Linked DNA regions of Homo sapiens: region 2 is linked to region 1. Evidence: promoter capture Hi-C in human tissues and cell types (Jung and others, 2019). All regions are on one chromosome and are shown on one strand. The core of a region is centred on a gene start or on the middle of the fragment in contact, and the rest is flanking DNA. Distances in the headings are between cores, read along the strand shown.

Evidence for each region. The method cuts DNA at HindIII sites, captures the fragments that hold promoters and counts their contacts. A contact is called where the count stands out against the background at its distance.
Region 2: a contact is called between the fragment with the promoter of MFAP1 here and a fragment that was not itself captured in region 1, in 2 of the 25 tissues and cell types used here (H1 embryonic stem cells and dorsolateral prefrontal cortex).

Annotation. Positions count from the first base shown.
Region 1 is chr15:44,411,488-44,414,795 of GRCh38, reverse strand. GOLM2 (golgi membrane protein 2) reads right to left here. Exons shown (of 10, transcript NM_138423.4): 10 at 1-1,460. The coding sequence ends at 1,390. Among named protein-coding and RNA genes, the nearest start is that of CTDSPL2, 14 kb to the left of the region's middle. The HindIII fragment of the contact is 3,102 bases long and covers 1-2,809 here.
Region 2 is chr15:43,822,966-43,826,378 of GRCh38, reverse strand. MFAP1 (microfibril associated protein 1) reads left to right here and starts at 1,689. Exons shown (of 9, transcript NM_005926.3): 1 at 1,689-1,888. The coding sequence starts at 1,810. RefSeq lists enhancers at 1,242-1,873, 1,626-1,885. The HindIII fragment of the contact is 35,410 bases long and covers 1-3,413 here.

The sequences.
Region 1 (3,308 bases), core at 9-2,508:
CTTAACTAACATATTAAGTAATTACAAAGATTCATTTTTTTACAAACTTTTAAGCTATTTTAATAAAATGGCTATAGACCTCACTGTACTTCTATTTATCTGTGCATTAATAAAAACCTGTTAAAATTCCTTATTTAGTACTTCTGAAAAAGTCTAATCAAATAAGATCACTAAAATTACCAGAAAAGCTTTGAAATACTGATTGCAGATTCATTTCAAAGTAGATTTAACCCCTTTCAGGATCTGGTGTTTAAATCATGAATGTCTTCACCAACTTCAACTCTGAAAATATAAAAATTTTAGCCAGTTCTGGCTATAGTTAAACAGTACTGGTATTACTTGAAAAAATAAAAATTAAAAATATATTGTCAATCATGCATTCCACAATTTCAAGAACTAAGATATAACTCATAAATACTGTTATGTCTTTGCAGGTTATCTCAATTTCCATCAGGCCTCAGCTGAAAGCTCATCTGCCAAAACACATCAGCACTCATGTAAAATAAAAGGAGTAGGGAGGTGACTTTCTACACAATACTGTACAGTGTTTGGCTTCCAGTTTCCCTCTTGTGTGTAACTATTCTAGGTATGACTCCTTGAGCGTGAAATGAGGGGTAGATAGAACAGAACAGCTGTTGGGCTAACAAGAATTAGTGTGTAGACTGGGCGCAGTGGCTCATGCCTGGAATTCCAGCACTTTGGGAGGCCAATGCAGGAGGATCACCTGAGGTCAGGAGTTCAAGACCAGCCTGGCCAACATGGTGAAACCCGTCTTTATTAAATATACAATTATTAGCTCTCTATTAAAAATACAAAAATTAGCTGGGCATGGTGGTGGGTGCCTGTAATCCCAGCTACTTGGGAGGCTGAGGCAGGAAAATTGCCTGAACCCAGGAGGCGGAGGTTGCAGTGAGCCAAGATTGTGCCATTGCACTCCAGCCTGGGAAACAAGACTAAAACTCTGTCTCAAAAAAAAAAAAAAAAAGAATTAGAGTATAAAAAGTTTTCTGCTGAATATCTGTTCTGTTCTTACTGTGGTTATGCTATGCCACATATAACCTGTACAACTATTTTGTCCTGTTTATCTATTTGTGGAAATAAGTCGGCTCAATAAAATGTGAAATATACATTAGTTTGCTTTAGATGCAAAGATTAGCTGTTTTTGGCTTAACTGTATCATAACCAAAAAAGTCTATACCTTGATAATACAATATGAAAAAGTTCACATATGTACATGGGTACATTCCTTCATTAAAGTTTTTCCTTAATTCTATCTCAATGTATCTTTACAACTGATACAATTCGTCTTTACAACAAAAGTCAGAAAGGACAAAGTAGAATGATTTCATTTTACAGCACTTTAGGTTTTCTGAAGCATTCCTTTAGGACTTAAAGGACATCATTGAAATGTTGCTTTCCATAGTCTGCAGGATCCATTTGAAGCTCTCGTTCTTCATCATCTGTAAGTAAAATAATTTTGTATCAACATATTATTTTTTAAATCACTGCAGAAATCCAATTAATGTCTCAGTTTTTCATAGCCTTAAGGTAGTTTCCTGCTTGTTATTTTACACCTAGTACAAATAGTGTTCTATTTCTTAGTTGCTTGGCTAAAGAGTGAAAAGTATGTGGAACTATTTTGCAAGATTAATTTTAACAAATCTTTAGAAAATAGACATAGATGACAGACAAACAGAAATAGAGCCAGATAGACATAACTAGTAAAACTTTAGGAACGCACAAATATTGAGGAGTTAATATTTTTATATAAATGTAGTCTTTTTTTTTTTTTTGAGACCGACTCTCACTCCGTTGCCTAGGCTGGAGTGCAGTGGTGCGATCTTGGCTCACTGCAACCTCTGTCTCCCAGGATCAAGCGATTCTCCTACCTCAGCCTCCCAAGTAGCTGGCACTACAGGCACCTGTCACCATGCCTGGCTAATTTCTGTATTTTTAGTAGAGACGGGGTTTTACCATGTTGGCCAGGCTGGTCTCAAACTCTTCACCTCAGGTGATCTGCCCACCTCGGCCTCCTAAAGTGCTGGGATTACAGGCGTGAGCCACAGTGCCCAGCCTAAATATATTATTTCTATATAGATGATATTTAGTCCTTTAAATTAAAGCTTTGGTAGAAACATTTCTGTACACATTTTCAGGCTTTTAAACATCAATTTTTTTTTCTAAATTATAAAAGTATCCAATATTAGTATTTTTAAAATTATAAAAGACAGAAAAATAAAAGTCACTCATAATCCCAACATTTAACATTTTAGTGAATTTCTTTACGTCTCTGCAAAAGTAGCTTCCTCTTGGCTTCCTAAATGGGGTATAACAACCAAAGTTTAACCTTTTCTTAACTAAACAGAAAAAAAAGATTACTGTTACTAAAATCCTCAAAGCCTCTTTGAGTGGCTGTATTAAATTACTCCAAATAGTGCTATGGAGTTTGATTTATTTGGCTATTACAGATTTTTCTGGCTCTTTCTTGGCTATGAGTTGTGATCACTTTGCCTTCTTGTCAATTTACCTGCCAATAGCAATCCTTCTTTTCTAATTTTGCTGCAAATTACAGGTTTTGAAATGAGACTGCTGAAGAGGTTTTTTTGTTTGTTTGTTTGTTTGTTTTTCTGAGACAGAATCTTGCTCTGTTGGCCAGGCTCAAGTGTAGTGGTATTATCATGGCTCACTTGCAGTCTCAACCTCCCGGCCTCAAGTAATCCTCCCACCTCAACCTCCCAGGTAGCTGGGACCACAGGTGCACGCCACCACACCAGGCTACATTTTGTATTTTTTGTAAAGACAGGGTTTTGCCATTTGCCCAGGCTAGTCTGGAACTCCTGGGCTCAAGTGATCCACCGGCCTCAGCCAAGAGTATTAAAATTATATTAGAACAAGAATGAAAAGTATTTTGATGAGAGCCTTGGAGAGTCCCTTTGGAGTACATGGATTTTTTTTTTTTTTTTTTTTGAGATGCAGTCTCATTCTGTCGCCCAGGCTGGAGTGCAGTTGCATGATCTCAGCTCAATGCAACCTCTGTCTCCTGGGTTCAAGGGAATCTCCTGCCTCAGCCTCCTGAGTGGCTGGGACTAAAGGCGCTTGCCACCGCACCCAGCTAATTTTTGTATTTTTAGTTTCACCATGTTGGCCAGGCCGGTCTCAAACTCCTGGCCTTGTGATCTACCTGCCTCAGCCACCCAAAGTACTGGGATTACAGGCATAAGCCACCGCGCCTGGCGTAGAGTACATGGATTTTTATGATATCTTTTGGCTTCTCTGCAGACTTAAAAAATCACTTTTCTTACATTCTG
Region 2 (3,413 bases), core at 440-2,939, 590 kb after region 1:
TTCCAAACCAGCCTGGGCAACATAGTGAGACCCCATCTCTATAAAAAATACAAAAATTAGCCCAGCGTGGTGTTGTACGTCTGTAGTCCCAGCTACTCAGAAGGCAGGGGTGGGAAAATGGCTTGAACCTAGAAGGATGAGGCCACAGTGAGCCGTGATTGCGCGGAACTCCAGCCTGAGCGACAGAGCAAGACCCTCTTCTATAAATAATAAAATAAGATTCTGGCTATTCTCTTTAAGGTTCCTTCTAGCCCAAAACTGTTTCCTTGGTTGCTTAGTTGGGTCCCACACTGTTCCTTGCCTGAGATTTGTCCAGTTTCATTTCTTCTCCCACTCAAGGCCCAATTGTAGAACACAGGTGAAGTAATTTGGGTTAATCATATTAATAGCAACTTCAAGGCCCCTCATGACTCAAAAATTACTGATAAAACCAAACTTTTCATGGTGTCCTGTATAAAACATACTGTTTCTGGACTTTAAGACTTTGTTCCTACTGTCCCTTGTCTCCCCCGCAGTTATAAAGTCCTTTCTACTGTGAAATGTGTCCTGACTTTCCAATTAGCCAATATTATATATATTTTTTAACACGACTCAGCTTGTAAATTGGAGCTGCTTCTGTTATTATCCTGTAAGTCCTTAAAGAGTTCTTAAATAGGCCGGGTGCGGTGGCTCACCTCTGTAATCCCAGCACTTTGGGGAGGCCGAGGTAGGTGGATCATCTGAGGTCAGGAGTTCAAGACCAGCCTGGGCAACATGGCGAAACCCTGCCTCTACTAAAAATACAAAAATTAGCCGGGAGTGGTGGCCCACGCCAACACTCAGCACTGTGGGAGGCCGGAGTGGGCGGATCACTTAAGCCTGGCCAACATGGTGAAACCTCGTCTCTACTAAAAATACAAAAATCAGCAGGGAGTGGTGGCAGGCGCCTGTAATCCCAGCTAATCAGAAGGCTGAGGCACGAGAATTGCTTAAACCCGGGAGGTGGAGACTGCAGTGAGCTGAGATCGAGCCACTGCACTCCAGCCTGGGTGACAGAAAAAGACAGTCTCAAAAGAATAATAATTACTTAGATATTTAAATACAAACATTTTCTAGCCAGGAATGTATTTTAATAGGTAGTTTCCAGAAACTGGAAAAACCTGAAAGCCTAAAAAAGTGGAGTTTTGGGATTTCAGGTGGGCAATGTCCCAGGCACCTCGGGAGTTTTTTTTTTTTTTTTTTCGGTCACTGGCCTAAATCAGCACCACCTGCCCTGTGAAACCAAATACCGCACCACAGCCCACCCTGGCCTTATGAACTAAGCTAATCGGATACTACTGGCAAGATTTTTATTCCATCAAACTCTACTTCTTCTGAGCTTTCAACAAGCCATTCAAACAGTAACTCACTGTCGCCTGAGTTTCTTATTCACTATACCGTTCTTGGCTTCAAACCAAGCTAACACGTAAAATCTTTCATTCGAACCTTCCTCACCGCAGAGTCCTAACAGCAAAGCCCAAAGGAAGCAAAATTTCCCGCCAAAAGCTGCTTCCAAATTCTGCGACGTAGAGGACATGCGGGCAGCCAATGAGCATGCGCAGAAACCGACTCGACTTCCTAGCTGTGGGCGCCCAAACGTCGTCCACCATCCCACAATCCTCTCGTCACGTATTTCCGGTTTATCTAGCTCAGCCGTAAGTAGTTTCTCTATCAGTCGCGCAGCTGTGTTCGCGGACTCAGGTGGAAGGAATTTCTTCTCTTCGTTGACGTTGCTGGTGTTCACTGTTTGGAATTAGTCAAGTTTCGGGAATCACCGTCGCTGCCATCAACATGTCGGTCCCAAGCGCTCTCATGAAGCAACCGCCCATTCAGTCTACGGCTGGGGCCGTCCCAGTTCGCAATGAGAAAGGTACGGTGCTAACACCCTCTTCCCAGTCGAATTTTAACCCCTTCCGGCCCCAGCAACCTCCAGACCTCTCCCGGACAGACCACTCCAACCCCGCCAGCTCTTGAGATCTGGCTGCCAGATTCTTCGATCTTTCCACCCCCACCCACTTGCATCCGATCTTGTTCCTGTGGCCTGCTCTCGTATTCAGCAAGCACCTCTCTTCTGTTAGCCTCCACAAATTCCTTAGACTAATGTTACATATATATAATATATATTACACATATAAAAACATTAGGAACTTAAGTATATATCAGAATATATATGTCTAATATATATATGCTAGAATATATGTATTAGTCTAATATATATTATGATTAGAATATAATATCACTAATTACATATAATTACAAGAATTTATGTATTATTAGTGTAATTACTTAGGAACTTAAGTATATTATTAATCTAATAATTAGGAACTTAAGTATATATCAGAATATGTATATAATATCAGACTAGATAGATAGATAGAGAATGCCTGTTGGCAGGGCATTGTGCGGGATACAGTCCCTCTTTTGCTGTCCATAGAAGTCTGCTTATGCTGCCCAGGCTGGACTCGAATTCCTGGGGCTCAGGCTGTCCTCCTGCCTCAGCCTCCCGAGTAGATGCCGCCGTATCTAGTCTCAACATGGCTTTTGAGAATTATCTTTGGATCCCTATACATCTAATTCATTCATCTTAACAGCTTATGAATTCCATTGTATAAAATAAACTGTAATCCACACTTTATTCCCTACTGAGAGGCAGGTGGTTGTCCCCTTGTTCAAAAAAGTGCTGCGGCCAGGCACGGTGTCTTATGCCCATAAACCCAGCACTTTGGGAGGCTGAGGCGGGCTGAACACCTGAGGTCAGGAGTTCAAGACAGCCTGGCGATCATGGCGAAACCCCGTCTCTACTAAAAATACAAAAAATTAGCCATGCATGGTGGTGGGTACCTGTAATCCCAGCTACTTGGGAATCTGAGGCAGGAGAATTGCTTGAACCCGGGAGGTGGAGGTCGCAGTGAGCAGAGATCGCACCATTGCACTCCAGCCTGGGCCACAGTGTGAGACACTCTCTCAAAAAAAAAAAAAGAAAGTTCTGCAATTGTCATTCTCTAGCCAATACTAGCTTTATTTAGTACCTGTTGCCAATTGCTCCCCAAAGTAAGTTATAAGAACATAAGAATTTGTGGAGCACAGTGGCTTACACCTGTAATCTCAGCACTTCGGGAGGCTGAGGCAGGAGGATCGCTTGAGGCCAGGAGTTCAAGACCAGCTTGGGCAACATAGCGAGACCACCCCCCACCCCCGCCAATCTCTGCAAAAATAAAAATTAGGGCCCGGCGCGGTGGCTCACGCCTGTAATCCCAGCACTTTGGGAGGCTGAGGCTGGTGGATCACCTGAGGTCAAGAGTTCGAGACCAACCTGGCCAACGTGGTGAAACCGTCTCTACTAAAAATACAAAAATTAGCCAGGTGTGGTGGCAGGCGCCTGTAATCCCAGCTAC